Linked DNA regions of Homo sapiens: region 2 is linked to region 1. Evidence: promoter capture Hi-C in 16 types of primary human blood cells and fetal thymus (Javierre and others, 2016). All regions are on one chromosome and are shown on one strand. The core of a region is centred on a gene start or on the middle of the fragment in contact, and the rest is flanking DNA. Distances in the headings are between cores, read along the strand shown. Region 1 holds the start of IRS1 (insulin receptor substrate 1). Region 2 has its middle 350 kb from the start of MIR5702.

Evidence for each region. Contacts are between HindIII fragments. The CHiCAGO score rates a contact against its expected background, and 5 or more counts as called.
Region 2: a fragment that was not itself captured here is called in contact with the fragment with the promoter of IRS1 in region 1 in 2 of 17 cell types (total B cells and M0 macrophages); the score reaches 6.1 in total B cells.

The regions. Positions count from the first base shown.
Region 1 is chr2:226,797,772-226,801,505 of GRCh38, forward strand. IRS1 (insulin receptor substrate 1) reads right to left here and starts at 2,049. Exons shown (of 2, transcript NM_005544.3): 1 at 1-2,049. The coding sequence starts at 967. It also overlaps a transcript of RHBDD1 not described here. RefSeq lists an enhancer at 1-137 and silencers at 868-917, 1,908-2,327, 2,348-2,417, 3,378-3,587. The HindIII fragment of the contact is 8,747 bases long and covers 1-3,734 here.
Region 2 is chr2:226,305,878-226,309,363 of GRCh38, forward strand. No RefSeq gene overlaps it. Among named protein-coding and RNA genes, the nearest start is that of MIR5702, 350 kb to the right of the region's middle. The HindIII fragment of the contact is 1,066 bases long and covers 1,024-2,089 here.

The DNA of each region.
Region 1 (3,734 bases), core at 799-3,298:
AGCCTGGCTTCCCGCCCACCATGCTGGCCGGGGAGGTGGCGGTGATGCTCTCAGTGCGTGATCGGCGGGTCAGCCCCACCTGGCTGGGCGGGGGATTGTTGAGATGGTGCCGGCGCAGGGGGACGCTGATGGGGTTAGAGCAGTTGGACGAGGACTGGCTCTTGCTGCGAGGGCGGAACTCATCACTCATGGCCCGCATGGCCTCCAGGATGGTCTCGTGCATGTTCTGGGCCACCACAGAGTCATCCACCTGCATCCAGAACTCCCCGGGCCCCGTCACGGCAGAACGGCCCACCTCGATGAAGAAGAAGTTTTCCGAGTGGCCACAGCGCCTGATGTTCATCAGCTGCAGCACCACGGCCGCTGCCTCCGAGTTCAGCTTCACGAAGCTGATGGTCTTGCTGGTCAGGCAAAGGCGGTAGATACCAATCAGGTTCTTTGTCTGACCCAGGCCCTTGGGCTTCAGGATCACTTGCCAGACCTCTTTGAATGCGGGTCCTGGGGGCACGTCACCGTAGCTCAAGTCCTCCCCAGCCTCACCAAGGCCGGAGCTGCCGCTGCAGCTGCCCCCACCACCTCCCGCCCCGAGGGCCGCAGCTCCGTCGTGGTGGCCCTTAGCACGGTTGTGCAGCTGTAGGAGAGCCTGGTACCAGCTGTCTTGCTCGGCCTCGCTGTCCGCCGCGATGGCAAAGTGCTCGTCCCGGGTGTAGAGAGCCACCAGGTGCTTGTTCTTGGAGTCAGCCCGCTTGTTGATGTTGAAGCAGCTCTCAAGGGGGATCGAGCGTTTGGGGGCGCTCGACTTGTGCCGCCACTTCTTCTCGTTCTCGTAGTACTCGAGGCGCGCCGGGCCCCCAGCCTCGCTGGCCGCGCGCAGTACGAAGAAGCGTTTGTGCATGCTCTTGGGTTTGCGCAGGTAGCCCACCTTGCGCACGTCCGAGAAGCCATCGCTCTCCGGAGGGCTCGCCATGCTGCCACCGCCACCACCAACGCTGAGCAGAGGGAGGCTCCGAAAAACAACCGGGTGGGGGGCGGAGGCTCCTCGCCGCGGCCCGGCACATGCAAACAGGGCTGGAGGCAGCAGAAACCCCGACTCTGAAATCCACGCCGCCCCCCGCGCCGGGGAGGGGCAGCTGAAGGAGGACGCAGCTGCTGAGCCCAGGAGAGAGCCCGACCGGAGTTTTCGGGCGCTTCACGCCCGGCGGGGAGGCAGTGCGTCCGGGGTGAGGGCAGCCCCGATCCTCCGAGAGCCAAGTCTCCTCTCAGCCGCCGCCGCCACCAGGAAGGAGCGAAGATGCATCTCTCGTCGCCCCGGCTGGAGTCCGGCACAGGGAGGCGACAGTCGGGGGTCCCTGCGGTGCCCCTCCAGGAGCGCGCGCGCGCGCGCGCCTTCCCTCCTGAGTTCCCCTCTGGAAGCAGCGATTCCCGAGGCAAATTAAATATCCTTGGGCAGGGGGAGGCGGGTTGCCAAGTCCCAACGTTGCACGGGGTTCTCCCTCCTCCTTCGCCTCCTCCCACCCCCCAACCGTCCCAGCCGCCACCAGCCGCCCAAATACCAGCTCAGTCGCAGAGACCGCGGCGCTGCGGCTGTTGCTGTTGCTGCTGCTGCTGCTGCTGCTGCTGCCGCCGCCCGCGGGCGCGTCCTCTGCAGCCCCCATCCGGGCCCATCTCGGCGGGTGGAGAAAGTGGCTTTTCCATGCGAAACGATACCGGGCAGCCACTGCAGCTGGGGACCGGCCGGAGGGACAGACTCATCCCTGCCCCTCGCTCCAGGCGGCTGGGGAGGAGGGGAGGGGACAAGGGCGAGAGGGGATGGGGGAGGTTTGGGAAGGGTTCGGGGAAGACGCCTGTTCCTCGGGAGGCGCTGCCGCTGCAGTTACTTCTCCCCTCCTCCCTCCTCCTCCTCCTCCTCGGAGAGTTGCCGAGAGCCCCAACCAAAACAAGCGGCGGCGTCTGGCTCTGCGCGCCGGCCCCCTCCGACCGCGCCGCCGTCTCACTCGGAGGAGAAAAACACGTGACGGAGCCTCCGCGCTCGGCAGCCGGGCAGCCGCCGCCGGGAGGCTCCCGCCCGGGTCTCTACATTCCGGGCCGAGCCCGCCCCGCGCCCGCCCCTCTCCGCCCCCCAGCCGTGCTGCAGCGGCGCCCGCGCCGACCCCGGCGCAGCGCTAGGACAGCGCCCCTGCGCGGCCGCCAGCTCCGGCGCAGCGCCTCCCTACACGCGCGCCAACCGGGGCGCCCCCGGCCCGCAGGAATCCCCGCGGCGGGCGCAGGCGGGGGTGTTTGGGTGGCTACCCGAAAGCACGAGGGGAGTCTGGGAAAACGGGAGGGGGCGAGCTCGGGAAGACGCAGGAGTGAGGGTGGGGGGCCACGGGGGGGCACTGCGGCTACAGAGCCCCGAGTGGGAGGCCGGGGGGAGGCGGGGGCGCCGGAGCTGGGCTGCCTCTTACCTATCAGGTAAGACTGACCCACGGGAGGGAGGTTTCTAGTCAAGGCTGTTTCCCCCAGGAAATTTAAAAGCTAGATTTCGGCTTCAGGGCGATAGGCCATGGTGAGGGGATCTGTATTTTTTAAGGTTTTTCTAAAGGACTTCTGGGCCAGCCTTCCACCTTGGGATCCCCAGATTTGCTGCCGTGAGGTACCTGGAAGGAACAGAGGGACGCCCAAGGGCAGTGACTGGGGGCAGTTATGGTCACTACAAAAGGAGAACAGGGATCCCCAGGAAGTGTCTCACGTCCGGCGCTGTGGAATTAGTTGCTGATCAAGTAGGGAGAAAATGTAAATATCACCTTTTCTCCTGCTCCCCTTGCCCATCCGTGTGACGGGGGGACTCACACCTAAGGCTGAGGGCATGGGGGAGGGGAAATGAGAGGTCCCTTATCATATTCCGAAGTCTATCCGTGACTTTAAAAAGCTGTTAGGGACCTTCAGAGGGTTCATAAGGCCAAAACCCTACTGTGCAAATATTGGCTGAAATGTTTGTTTCACACACAGCTCCCACACCCATTGAACCACCCTATAAGTTTTTAACCTTGACCACAAGGATAACAGGGAGAAAACAAGGATGGTGCCAGCTCAACTGTACAGGAAAATGGTTACTTCATGAGTGGACCAGATCAGCAGCCTGGGTCTACTTGAAGCGCCCCTTTCAGGGTCACCTTGCGGTATCAGTCTCCCCACAAACAAACGCTCCCCAGAGTTTTTTTATTTTTTAAGCCGACCTATAAACAAGCAGTTTGTCCCTGCTTGCTCGCCTGGCACTAAGGACCCACAGAGATGTCACTCGGTTTAATGCTGTCTCATTTTGATGCCTGGCCCGTTTGGGGTTGCCGCCCCTTTACTACGCCGGGACCCTCCTCGGCCTCAGGCTCCCAGGCACTGCAGGATGCTGGCTGGGCACTCAGCAGTCGAGGCGCTGGGCATGCTCAGTGGCTGGGACCCGGCGGGCCGCGGGGGAGCGCGCCTCGGCCCAATGCGGCTGAGGGGCGGAGCGAGTTTCCCGGGGAGGCCTGCTGATTGGTGGGATGGCCTGTTTTTCAAGCCTTGCACTGCAGAGGGAAGGTGGGGGTAGAAGGGTTGAGGGTACCAAGGTAGGTTGCAAAGCGTAGTAAAAAAAGAAAAAGAAGATGATGATGATGAAGGAGAAAAAGAACCATAGGCGCCATTCAGGGGTGTGCGATACGTAAATTAGGGGGATTGGGCATCTGCAGAGGGGCTCCTCCCCACCCAAGCCTGGGAGC
Region 2 (3,486 bases), core at 307-2,806, 490 kb before region 1:
TCCCTTTTCTCTTCTCCGAGTTAGTGGAGGAGTAGAAAGAATTGTACGTGGCACAAGACAATTCTGCTCACATCCCATTGGCTAGAACTCATGCCCATGACCACACCTAACTTGGGAAAAGTGGTCTAATTGTGCATTCAGGAGGGGAATGTGGATCTTGGGAGCAGAGAGGAGCAGTCTCTGAAGTTGTTTCACTGGATTTGATGTCCCATCCAATTGTAAATCTCAATGATCATAAGATATCCTAGAGTACCCTAAATGTGCTCATTATACGGCTTGGGGAAGGATATATACTTAAAAATAATGCACAATAAACTAGTTATTGAATGAGTGGTGTGAGGTGCTATATGATGTAGACTCATACAAGACTTAAAACATTAAATGAGAATTCAGAGACCTGGCTCTTCAGGTTTGGTATGTACCAGTGTAGGTTGCTTAATATTTCTCTGTTTCAGTTGCTTTAAATATAAAGAAAAGCCGGGTACAGTGGCTCACGCCTGTAATCTCAACACTTTGGGAGGCCAAGGCAGGCAGATCACCTGAGGTCAGGAGTTCGAGACCAGCCTAGCGAACATGGTGAAACCCTGTCTTTGCTAGAAATACAAAAATTAGTCGGGTGTGGTGGCGGGTGCCTGTAATCCCAGCTACTCTTGAGGCTGAGGCAGGAGAAGTGCTTGAACCTGGGAGGTGGAGGTTGTAGTGAGCAGAGATTGCACCATTAAACTCCAGCCTGGGTGACAGAGTCTGTCTCAAAAAAAAAAAAAAAAAAAAAAAAAGAAAGGAAGATAATAACTACTTTATCTATTTAGTAGGACTATTCTAAAGATCAAATAAGACACATATGTAAGAGATTTTAGCACTGTAAAGCAATTGTGAAGAAATCATTATGCTATCATATTTCTAATAGTGGATATAATATATACTAACTACATTAGTAGAATTTTTGACCCTATGAACTAATCTCTGAATACTAAATGCTAAAACGATGGCTTTATATATACTATATTAGTAATCATCTGGTAAAGCTTTAACTAAACTTTTTGTGTTATATTTAACATTTGGAGGGCCTGATAGAGTTTATTAAGAGGACAAAATGAGCTAATCCATATGAATTCCTTAAAATCGCAACTGCACTAATAAGTTCTGAATAAATATTACTATTGTTATTAGGAGAACTGACATGGCTGAGAATTCATGATACCCAAAGTGCCATGCCAAGCATTTCATATATTATCTTATTTAATTATCATAATAACTCTATAGTGTAGTTATTATTATCCCATTTTCTAGATTAGGATAACTGAGACTCAAGTAGGATAAATAATTGAAATGTGGATTTTAAACTTCAAATAAATATTTATACCTCTTTATTCTGACATTGCTGATAAGCAAATATTTTTTCACAAACTAACATCTAACACACCTGAGCCCACTTGGATTCCACAATGGCGTGTCACTGTCCTGTACTCTGATCTCTTTGCAGTTCAGATTGTGATGAAAACAATTCACTAGATGCTCATTGTGGATGATTTCTCCATTACTTTTCCTAATTAATGACTTTTATCTACCTTGCCCTGGGTCTCCTGGAGCAACTGACAGAGGCACAGAGGACTCAGGAAGTTACCAAGTAGCTGGGGGAGACAAACTTTTGCTGATGAAAGTGCTTTCCTAGGTTTCTTAGCGCCTGTGGTTGTGTGTTTAGCAGGTGAAAGTCAGGAGGCTGACAGTGATTTTCTTTTTGCCCAACACGTCAGCACAAAAATTACACCATCATAGATGGAGTCTTCCTGATCTCTTTTTGGGGTGTGTGTGTGTGTGTGTGTGTGTGTGTGTGTGTTTCCTTTTTTTTGTTATTAAAGAGGAAGGACATAGTTCTTGGTGACATAAAAACATTTTTGTTTCTGTTCAGGGATTCACTTGTCCTCTTTTTCATATTATGGTGCTATGTGACACAAGCATTGAAAGTACAAAATGAAAGGGTACTTTATATATTTGTACAACATACTATGCAAATATTTGGTCAAATTGGGACAGTACATTTGGAAGTGAAGGAGAAAACTTCCCCTGAACACTCATAAATTCACCTTGAAGCTTTATCGCCGAGAGCCTGTGCTATTTTCCTTTTACTTGTGTACTATGTAGGTCCAGATTGGACACTCTTGTTAAAAATGTGTTTAGGCAATTCAGAATGAATCTAAACTTCTAGAAGACATAGGTTACTTTCATCAGAATCATGGTCAACAGCAGTTAGTTGTTCAAAATAGTTACCTCTGTTCATTTTAAAGTTAATCATTAAAAGAATAAAATCAAATTGGTTTACAAGAAAATCATGTGTTCAGTTACTCACACAAAATATCCATTGGTTTAGTAGTTATTGAGAATCTCCTATTTTTAACACCCTGTGTGAATCTGTGATAATATTACATAAATACATAATACAAATATATAATATCGAACATACATACACATATATATTATAAATATTCGTATACACCCAACAGAAATAGCAGTAAATGATGGGACCAATGACCTCTCAGCAATGTCAGCAATGTGCACTGGGAGTACAAAGAAGGAAGTAATGACTTCTGATTGAGACATGGGGAGTGCTTTCTCATATCTCCTGAAGACACTAATAAGTGAAAAACCCAGGACAGGAATCCCAGGGTGGGAGCAGCATGAGTAAAGGCAAAAAAAAAAAAAAAAAAAAAAAGTGCCTACTACAATTGAATATAGGGAGTAATAAAGTATAGATAGTAAGGGAACAAAACTGTAGGATGTTAGACTGTAGAAACAGTCTAGAAAGAGATTGTCAAAGACAATATGAGTAAGTCCCCCAGATAGCAACTTCAAATCTCTTGATAAACCTAAAGATGGGGAATCTACTGAATGGTTACTGTCCTTATGTTGGCCTACAGAGCCCTCCCATACAATCATATGTGTATATCTAATTTAAGTATGTGTTTATCATTATCTGTAACATTATTAAAATATCAATGTAGGCAATGAACCTGGGGTTAAAAAAAAAAAAAGACACCTGTACAGAAGAACAGAGAAGGATCTCAGAAGCTCTTGACTGTCAGTGAAAAGTACCAGAAGTGCAATTTGCATGAAATATACTCAGCTGCTTGGAAGGAGGAATGTTCCCTGACCATTAGAGTAAAGATTCAATGCAAACAAGATAAGCCAAAGGTTGTCTTTCAGCTCCTCAGGAGGGTTCCCTGGAGAGGCAAGGATGAAGAGAGAATAGGAAGGATGCGTGCACAGCTGTGAGACACCAGACATGTGTCATGGGGAGCAGGATCCAGTGGAGCTGCCCTGAATAGCTACCAGATGTGCTCTTTTGTCAATGACCTCATCTGAAAGAGTTCCAAACCGGATATATCAAGGCAATCATTTTAGGACTGATGGGATCATATGAGTTGAACCAAAAGAACCACCATTCTGAGAGAGAGAATTCTTTCTCATGGCAGAAGTTCTTTTTAACAG